Linked DNA regions of Homo sapiens: region 1 is linked to region 2. The links are contacts of gene promoters, found by promoter capture Hi-C in blood cells and fetal thymus (Javierre and others, 2016). All regions are on one chromosome and are shown on one strand. Each heading gives the region's core, a stretch centred on a gene start or on the middle of the fragment in contact. The rest is flanking DNA. Distances are from core to core; before and after follow the strand shown.

The links. Contacts are between HindIII fragments. The CHiCAGO score rates a contact against its expected background, and 5 or more counts as called.
Region 1: a contact is called between a fragment that was not itself captured here and the fragment with the promoter of CACNG5 in region 2, in 1 of 17 cell types (M1 macrophages). The highest score is 6.0, in M1 macrophages.

What each region holds. Positions count from the first base shown.
Region 1 is chr17:66,239,346-66,244,699 of GRCh38, forward strand. No RefSeq gene overlaps it. Among named protein-coding and RNA genes, the nearest start is that of APOH, 13 kb to the left of the region's middle. The HindIII fragment of the contact is 2,857 bases long and covers 1,734-4,590 here.
Region 2 is chr17:66,833,278-66,838,325 of GRCh38, forward strand. CACNG5 (calcium voltage-gated channel auxiliary subunit gamma 5) reads left to right here and starts at 1,840. Exons shown (of 6, transcript NM_145811.3): 1 at 1,840-1,973. The HindIII fragment of the contact is 6,143 bases long and covers 1-4,425 here.

The DNA of each region.
Region 1 (5,354 bases), core at 1,912-4,411, 590 kb before region 2:
TTACTCCAAAGAATTTGAAATTCCTACACAAAATCACACAAAGGTAGGCATGTGGTTCATGCAGGTTAAATGAGCGTCCCATAATGATACTGCTTACCCGGTTTTAGTCCCCATGAGTAGCAAAATTGTAAGTCTCCCCAACTTATCTTGGTATAGAAAATAATATAGATGTTTCTGCGACATTCAGTAGGGTCATTATGTCACCCAACTCTCAGCCAATGACCACCACAAATTGCAGCCAGTCCCTCCAGAGTCAGCTGTTCAGCTGGCTGGATCATCTCAGCCCTCTGTCCAGTCCCAGTGTGAGAGTCTGGTATCAGCCCCCCAGCTCACTTCATTTTCCTGCTTCACAAGAAGTTCTGAGTTAGGACAAGTTTGAGACAAAAAGGCCATGATGCTTTGGAATACAAAGAAGAGAACACTGAGGCCGGGCATGGGGGCTCACACCTGTAATCCCAGCATTTTGGGAGGTCGAGGCGGGCAGATCCCATGAGGTCAGGAGATGGAGACCAGCCTGGCCAACAAGGTGAAACTCTGTCTCAACTAAAAATACAAAAACTAGCTGGGCATGATGGTGCGCACCTGTAGTCCTAGCTACTCAGGAGACTGAAGCAGGAGAATCACTTGAACCTGGGAGGTGGAGGTTGCAGTGAGCTGAGATCGCACCACTACATTCCAGCCTGGGTGACAGAGTGAGACTCCATCTCGAAAGAAAGAAGAAGAGAACATTGAGACCTTTCACACAAGTGTCACGGACTATTTAGAAAAACATATTGTGAGAATTAGAAAGAAATTATGGGGATGATCTCATCACCAGAAAACCTAAAAGGGAATGAGGTTTAACAGATGAGAGCTTGATAATAAGATTCTGGAAATGCATTTGCTGACGATCTGGTGCAGAAGATGAGGAGGCAGCCAGAGAAACTAATATGACTTCCCAGGAAGTTTTTCTGATGAGCTCAGGTTGGGAAAGAAAAAAAAAGGATGGAGGAAGGGGAATATTACATGGGATGAATTCGAAGTACAGCATAGAGGCCGGGCACGGTGGCTCATGCCTGTAATCCCAGCACTTTGGGAGGCCGAGGCAGGTGGATCACATGAGACCAGGAGTTCGAAACAAGCCTGGTCAACATGAAGAAACCCCGTCTCTACTAAAAATAAAAAAAAATTAGCCAGGCATGGTGGTGCACGTCTGTAATCCCAGCTACTCAGGAGGCTGAGGCACGAGAATCGCTTGAGCCCAGGAAGTGGAGGTTGCAATGAGCAGCAATAGTGCCATTGCACTCTAGCCTAGGTGACAGAGTAAGACTCTGTCTCAAAAAAAATTAAAAAAAAAAAAACGAAGTACAGTATAAACCAAGTCCATAAAATGTCAGGAGCTCAGCTGACTAAACTAAATCCAAGATGTGATAAAGATCAGAAAAAATGCAAAGACAATAAAGTGTAGAAGTCAGGATGGAAAGAGGAAGGAAGAGTTATTGTATTTCACAAGGAAGATGATTCGTACATATGGAATTATACTTTTCTCATTATGAGAGTAATACAGTATCATTTAAATCAATCTGGAAAACAAACAGGAAATGACTAAAAATCCTATAATATCACCATTTAGGGTTATTTCTTTTCAGCATTTGTATATGTCATAATCAGAATTGGAATCATATTCGGTATATTGTTGTATATTTTATTTTCATATCATGAGCACTTTCCCAGATTATTATTTGTGTCTTCAAAGCTTGCTTTTTTCTTTAATGTCTACACAATCTTACATCATGTAGATGCTCTCTATTTTGACCATTTCTTTACTTTGGGATATTTGGGTGCTATCTTTCACCATTATGAATAAAGGTACAGTTAAGATTCTTTTTTTTTTTAAGTGAAAGTAAGTTTATTAGGAAAGTAAAGGAGTAAAAGAATGGCTTCCCCATAGGCAGAGCAACCAAGATTCTTTTACAAATTTTTTTTCATTGAAACAGAGTCTTGCTCTGTCACCCAGGCTGGAGTGCAGATGCAATGGTGCTATCTTATTCACTGCAACTTCCGCCTCCTGGGTTCAAGCTGTTCTCCTGTCTCAGCCTCCCAAGTAACTGGGATTACAGGTGCCCACCACCCATACCTGGCTAATTTTTTGTATTTTTACAAAAGCAGGGTTTCACCATGTTGGCCAGACTGGTCTCGGATTCCTGGCCTCAAGTGATCCGCCCACGTCAGCCTCCCAAAGTGCTGGGATTATAGGCATAAGCCACCTCACTCGGCCCTTTTATAAAATTTTTGAATAAATTGTTTCCTTAGGATAGAGTCCTAGATGTGGAATTACTTAAGCAAAGGGTAAAACATTTAAGAATCTTCAAACATACTGCCTAGTTGCCTTCCTGAAAGGTTAGCCCAATTTTTGTTCCGATTTACAAGGATGAAGTTTCTAAACCTAAGGTTGAAAGCTGACAAAGAGAGAGACCGATTATTTAATTGTTAGTTTTCTTCTGACTTATTGGTAGAGTTTGAATATTTGTGCCCCCAAATCTCATGCTGAAGTGTAATTCCCAGGGTTGAAGGTGTGACCTGGTGAGAGGTGAATGGATTATGGGCAGATTTCTCAGGAATGGAGTAGCACCATTTCCTTGGCACGTGTGAGTTGAGTCCTCATGAGATCTGGTTGTTTAAGTGTGTGGCACCTCCTCCCAGCTCCTTCTCTTGCTCCCTGCTCCCTCTTCACCTTCTACCATGAATAAAATTTCCTGGAGGCCTCTCCAGAAGCCCAGCAAATGCTGGCTGTGTAAACAGCCTGCAGAACCATAAGCCAATTAAAACTGTTTTCTCTGTAAATTTTCTAGTCTCAGATATTTCTTCACAGCAACCCAAGAACAGACTAAAACACCTATATAGCAAAAAAAAAAAAAAAAAAGAAAGAAAGAAAGAAATTACACTCACACTGAAAAATAAAAATGTATATCAGGAAGATGGAATAAAAGTCCAGCTAGAAAATAATACAAGAAACTAGCTGTCCAAAATGAATTTAGGGGCTAGAAACCCAGGAAAACATATTCCAAGTTGTTAAAACGTGTAATTGTGACCCTGGGAAGTTCACTATCAACAATATTTACAATATAGGATGGTAAGGAGGACAATCTAATAAAATGAAAATTGTATTTTAAAATTCATGTACAATTGGCTGGGTGAGGTGGCTCATGCCTGTAATCTCAGACCTTTGGGAGGCTGAGGCTGACAGATCATTTGAGCTCAAGAGTTTGAAACCATCCCGGGCAACATAGTGAAACCCCATCTCTACCAAAAATACAAAAATTAGCCACGCATGGTGGCACACGCTTGTAGTCCTAGCTACTCAGGAGGCTGAGGCAGGAGGATCACTTGAACTCAGAGGCAGAGGTTGCAGTCAGCTGAGATCACACAACTGCACTCCAGCCTGGGCAACAGAGCTAAAACCTGTCTCAATTAAAAAAAATACATGTACAACACTGTGATACTGTTAAGAATATATACCCACATACACAAACCTGCACATTCTGCACATGTACCCTGGAACTTAACATAAAGATTTTCTTTTTTTTGAGATGGGGTCTCTCTCTCTGTTGCCAGGCTGGAGTGCAGTGGTGCAATCTCGGCTCACTGCAACCTCAGCCTCTCCAGTTCAAGAGATTCTCCTGCCTCAGCCTCCCAAGTAGCTGGGACTACAGGTGTGTGCCACCACACCCAGCTAATTTTTGTATTTTTAGTAGAGATGGGGTTTCACCATGTTGGCCAGATGGTCTCCATCTCTTGACCTTGTGATCCGCTCAACTCAGCCTCCCAAAGTGCTGGGATTACAGGCGTGAGCCACCATGCCCGGCCTAAAAATTTTTTTAAAAAGAATATATCTAGAAAAAATGCTGGAAGTTAGTGTACCAAAATATTGAGTATTTGAGTTAGAAGGAGATTTTTTTTTCTTGTTTTCTCTGCTTCCAAATTTTATGTAATGTGTTTGTATTATTTCATGATGGGAGAAAAAAACATTTTCAAAAACGATGAACACAAAGATGCCTGAAGACACAGAAGGAAAAGCAATAGATTCTGACAGCCAAGCCTCAGTAAGTTTGACATAAATCCACAGCCCAATGGTATGAATTGTTAAACAAATGGTTTATGGGTATGTAGATGAATGTGAAATGATGACTGAAAAATAATATGAACTCTCTTCAAAACATTTGAAGGTTTCAACAAATTAAATCCAATTATGTTTTTTGACATTGTTATTAGGTTAGTAGAAAAGGGCAACACTTTAGCTACAATGTATATCCCTCTTTTAGTAAAGCATTTGATGAGTTATCTACTGGCATCCTTGGGAGTAAGATACCGAACTGTGGCTTGGGATATGGTACTTCTAAGTGATTTGACAGCTGCTTGTACAAACTGTATATGAAAAGTTCTGCTCAATAGCTATAACATGAAACACCCAAACTCCACAGAGGTTTATTAGCTGCCATAGGTCTAGATTATATGAAAGTAAAATGAGGACTTGGGGAATGATTCATTATTTTTTAAGAGAGTAGAGGCATGAATGTCTCCCACAAATATCATCTATTGCTTTTTGTTTTAAGCTTAAATCTTTTTTTTTTTTTTTTTTTCAGATGGAGTCTTGCTCTGTCGCCCAGGCTGGAGTGCAGTGACACGATCTCAGCTCACTGCAAACCTCCGCCTCCCAGATTAAAGCAATTCTCCTACCTCAGCCTCCTGAGTAGCTGGGATTACAGGCATGCCCTACCACACCTGGCTAATTTTTGTATTTTTAGTAGAGATGGGGTTTCACCATGTTGGTCAGGCTGGTCTCAAACTCCTGACCTTGTGATCCACCCACCTCGGCCTCCCAAAGTTCTGGGATTACAGGTGTGAGCCACTGCGCCCGGCCTTAAGCTTAAATCTTTATATATATTTATTTATATTTATTTTTGAAACAGGGTCTCACTCTGTCACCCAGGCTAGAATACAGTGGGATGATCTCCACTCTCTGTATCTTCAACTTCCCAAACTCAAGTGATCCTCAGCCTCTCAAGTAGCTGGGACTACAGGTGTAAGTCACCACACCCAACTAATTTTGGGTTTTGTTTTGTTTTCTTTTGTTTTTTGGTAGAAACTGCGTTTTGCCATGTTGCCCAGGCTGGTCTTGAACTCCTGGCCTCAAGCAATCTGCCGGCCTCAGCCTCCCAAAGTGCTGAGATTACAGGCTTGAGCCACCCCACCTGGCCTAAATCTTTAAGTTTAAAGTGAGTATGAACACCCACCGATGTTGATTCATACTGGCCTCTTCGAGAGGACCATGGATCTTAAGAAGCAGTCTTATGATATTGTGAAAGTAAAATATC
Region 2 (5,048 bases), core at 590-3,089:
GGGATTGTTCAATTAACCCACAAGGGAGGACATTCCCTCTTCCACCCACCCCTTTCCTCACACCCAACACCAGGCAGTCTGCTCACCCCCACTCCATACACTTACTCTTCAATGGCTGGAGGACATGGCGACGGCCCGCAGAGGTGACCCACAGGGCATGGATCCCAGGCCAGCCTCTCTGGCCTTTGCTGGGAAAATGACCTGCAGACTTTGCAAAAGGCACATCTCCTGGGTGCTTTGCCCGTTTTCATCTTTTCATTTCATTGATCCAGCCACCTCTGAGGTTTTCTTTGGTGGTTTTCTCCTTGACAGCTTTAGTCTTGGGGAGATGTGTCCAACTTCCAGTCATTCATTCAGCAAATACAATGTGCCTACTATGCGTCAGACTTTCTCCTTTTAAGGGGCTCCCAGCATAGTTAGGGAGATTGACAGTAAATTCATCATTGCCATACTGGTGAGAGCTGTGCAAGAGGCTCCTGGGCCCAGAGACGAAGAAGAAGAAATCCATTCTTGGATTTCCATCAGGGTATTCTGGGGGATAGAGAAGAACACTCTTGGGGTAGGTGGGAAAAGGGAGAAAAAGCGGAAAACTGCATAGGCCTAAAATGCTGTGAATAGACACGTGGTGTATCCTTTCCAAAAACCTTCAGTTGTCCCAACTCCACCTGGCCCCATTCACATGTGACAAAGTCCTCCCATGTCAGGAGACCTCAGCAACATAGATGCTTCTATAAAAGTTTCTGCCCTACAGTTTTAAACTAATATGTTCACTGCTGATGTCTCATTATTTAGCAACCAACTTTGCCCCCAAATATTTCCACATGCCACATCTTTGACCCCCTCTTGGTCTGCAGGGATTTTACAGGCCTTTGAGGGGAAGCTGCTGGTCTGTGAGCATCTGCACAAGTGTGCCGGACAAAGATATCGGTCAGGCTGCCATTTCAAAGCAATAAAAGATATGTGGCTATGCAGGCCAGGAAGAGTTAGCCCTTGGGTTCCCCTTCCAACCTGGCTGACCACACTGGCTCCAGCTGCCACTTTCAAATTAGTCATAGATTAACAAACATCTATTGAGCACCTATTGGGTGTCCAGGACCCAGAGACTAAAGGAGACATAGAACCTAAGAAAGGAAGAAATGTTTTATTGTTAGTTGCCACCATTTATTGGACATATATTACCATTTTACTGTTAAGAGGGACAAACACTTTGCTTAAGGCCACACAGTACAAAAGCAGAGTGGGGCTTTAAAGGCTCAGATTCTGCACTTAGACAGGCCTGAGCTGCAGTCCTGGCTCTGCCATTTTCCAGCTGTGTGTCCTCAGACTCCTCACTTAAGCGCCCTGTGCCTCAGTCTTCTCATCTGTAAAATGGGATTCGTGTGAGAATTAAATGACTTAATACATGTGAAGCTCATTGAACGCTTACACTAGTAAGTGCTCAATAAATACTAGCTGGCATTGTTGTTCTATCACCATCATCATCATCATCATCATCATCATCATCCTTATTTAAAAGCAGCAGCAACGGCAGAGGCTGCAGCCCCAGCTGCTGGAATTTGAAGGTGAGTCTGACTCCAGGCAGGGTCTCCCAGCCCTATGCGGACTCTGAAAGCCTCTCCTCTCCCACGCCGGCCCCCAACTCTTCACCTGCCACCCCCACAAGGGTGCTCACCCCAGAGGTGCTCACCTCCCGGGCTGGGAGACCGCATCTGACCGGTCCCAAACCCCGCCTGCAGCTGGCAGCGCCGGGGTGGGGAGGCCCCGCCCTCGGCCCCGCCCCCTGCCCGCCCCTCCCTCTCGGGGTCCGGGGCGCGAGCTGCGGCGGCGGCGGCCACGGTCATTGGCGCCGAGCGGTTCCGGCTGACTGGACGGGGCGGGCGTCCCGGGCAGCCTAGCGCGGTACCTCCCGCCCCGCGCGCCCAGCCGGCGAGGGACATTGGACCAGGGTCGGGGGTCGCGGCCGCTCCAGCGAGGTAAGAGCCGGGAAGACCGGGAGAGACCACCTCTTCCATCCTGGGGGGGTCCCTGGGGGACGGTCTCCCACCGGTGCTGGGCCGCGGCGCCGGGCTGCGCCCCCATGACAGCCCAGCCAGGGGCAGGGGCTGGAGAGCCCTAGCGATCGCGCACCCTGGAAGGGGCAGTGTGGTGGGGAGCGCGGGCGTGTGTATGCGCGTGTGCGTGTGTCTGTCTGTCCATCTGTCTGTCCCAAGGATGTATCGGGGGAGATGATGACGCCCCCTCTTTGCAGTCGCTTCTAGGCAATTTACCCATGCCAAAGCTGAGGGCAGACTTTTCCACGACGGACTTGAATGGGGCTGGCAGATTATTATCCGGATAATGCAGGAAGGGATAAGCCCACCACCACCTGTTGAGCTGGGCTGTCGGCCTATGCGGGTCCAACTCCCCGCTTATCACAGCCTGCAGGGTGGCCTCATTTCTCCAGCTCGTGGGACCCGGGGCTTCCTTCTCCCGCCTGTGAGAAGGGTTGATAGGAGGAGGTGTCCCTGCCAGGAGCCACTGAGCAGAGATGGACTCGCGGGGGTGATCAGGGTGGTGCTATGGGGACCCCACCGCAGGTGCTGGGCGTGAGGTGTCAACCACCCAGGCACACCCCAAATTTGGATTTCCCCAATCACTCCAAAACCTCTCATTGTGATTCCCCGATCTTTGCTCTCATCCTAATTTGGCAGTTGATGAAGATGCAGCTCGTTAAAAATGTTAAAGTGAAATCAAATTATCACTTCCTAGGACTGAAAATGATTTGAGAAATAATTCCGGGAGCCTGGCTGGGGAGGAAAGAAGCTCATATTCTGACTAGCTTCTCCAGGGCTGCCCCGGGGCTGCCTCCGGTACCTGCCAGGCACGCCGGTGGTTAAGGAAGCCCTTGTTCCCAGAAAGGAAGGGATTCACCCACTTTGCACTGGATTATCAGTGACTGGGTTAGAGCAGGACCCAGGACAGGATCCCCAAGTGGGAGCTGTCTCAGTTTGACAGATGTCACATACAAGCTGTCACCGAGGCTGGCTTCTGCTCCACATCCATCCTGGGGAACACAAGATGGGGCTTCCCCTCCCAGCCACCTCACACCCATTCCCCTCATTTCCACAAACCTGAAGTCTTGATCAATTAACAGCCAGGATTGCCTGGGTGTGGGTGTGGGACCTTGATTGGCTCTGATGTCCTGGATTCAGAGTATCTCAGGACCACAGGCATCTCAGTGGCAGGTTGGTGGCACCTCTTTGCAGACCCTGTAGCCAGCCCCTCATGCCGAAGTCTCCTGCCTGCCTGAGAAGCCCTAGATCTGCCTCACTTCTCTGCTAACGCAGCCCCTGGAGGTAGCTGGGGGACACCTCATCTCAGGGCCAGGTCCCCAGGGTGCCTAACAGGGTGAAATCTGTGCTTGTGCCTGAGACCTCCCCACCCCCAAACCTCCTCTCTCTTGTCATGTGGAAGGCAGTGGATGTGCTGAGGGGCTGGGTAGTCCAGTTCAACGGAAGATAGAGGTGGCCCTGCTGTGGCTGGGGCTGTTGGTGATGTGAGAACCCCAGCATCCTGGCTGGCTGCACCCCAGGCCCCACAAGCCAACAGCACACTTGAGGGAGCTCAGCCATTCTCAGGCTTGTCAGCTGGGGCTCTGTGACTTGGTGCAGGGGGAGATTGGCTGAATTGTTCACGCTTGTTTGGAAGAGACTGGCCTTAGGTTGTTGTGGAAAACGTCGGCTCCAAACCCTGCTAGGTTCCTGACTGTGTGACACTGGCCAACTTACAGAATGCTTGGAGGCTCAGCCTCCTCACCTGTAAGATGGGTCTGGCAGGGGGTTTTGAGAATCAAGTAAGGTCATGAATGAATGACAGTGTCCATTTTACTGGAGGTGGTTCTGGGCTGGTGTTGTGGCCTCTGCTTTCTCTAGCCCCCAGCTTGACTCTCTGACATTGGACTTGAGGGAAGTGGCTGTGTAGCTAGGATCCCTCATGCCATCCTTAGAGGTGGGGGAAGAGGTGTGAATTTTAGTAGCAGGGTAGCTCACAGATTGAGCTTGGATTCCCAAAAAGTGAGGATGGAGGATGTAACCCAGTCTCCAGCAAACTCTGCCTCTGCAGGGAGCTGGCACTTCTGTCCCCAGCTTCTGCCCCGAGCCATTGGTGTCCTGGGCCCACCCCACACAGCCTTCTGGCTCACTGACACTTGGCACATGCCTGCTCTGTCATCTTCTTCTGAGTTTTGGGCCAGTCCTACTCCCTGGCAGAATTGGGACTAGCTACTTAAGACTTCAGGGGCACCAGGACAACCCCTGCCCACCAAATATCATCCTGTTCCCCCAAACCTAGCCATCTGATGCTTAATATCCCACCATTAGAGACTTATGACTGTGGTTCATAGTCTCATGTCAGTTACTAATCCTTAACATCAATGACTTGTTGAGAAGCTTTCAGGGCCTTGGAGAGGAGAGAAAGAGAAGGCAGAACAGAGAGGAGGGAAAGAGAAGCTTGGGGAGTGTAGGAGAGAGAACATTGTACTTTGCCAGCCTCATAGTTCTGCAGAGACAGGCCCAGCTGCTAAGCTCAAGAAGGCCCCAGGGAGAAGGAGAGGCTTGGGGCGAGGGGGAAGGGGCAGGCCTCAGGCAGAGAAAGTTGTGAATATCAAGTGGGAATTCTCGGTGTGAATACAGGGTGGGTGCCAGGCCTGTGTCTGGGTTGGGCTCCGGCAGCCTGTTCGAGAGGTGAAATAGTCCCTGATGCAAAAGCATCGTTTCTTTTCATGCTGCTCTACCCGCTGCTCAGAACACACCACGTGGGGTTTGGTGTGTTCTATGGGTGGTGCCCTCTGCATTAGAAGAGTCTGGCCTGGTCACGCTGGCTGTTTAAAATTGTCAATGATAATTTGTTAGGTCAGCAAAATGACAGAGTATACCCTGCCTGGCTGTGCCTCCCTGAAAATTCCCCTGTCACTCCCCTCGCCCTTTCTTGAAAGAAGCAAAAATGGCATAATTCACTCAGACCCATGAGTTTCCTGGGCTGAGAGTGGCCTGGGGGGAGCAGAGTTCGGC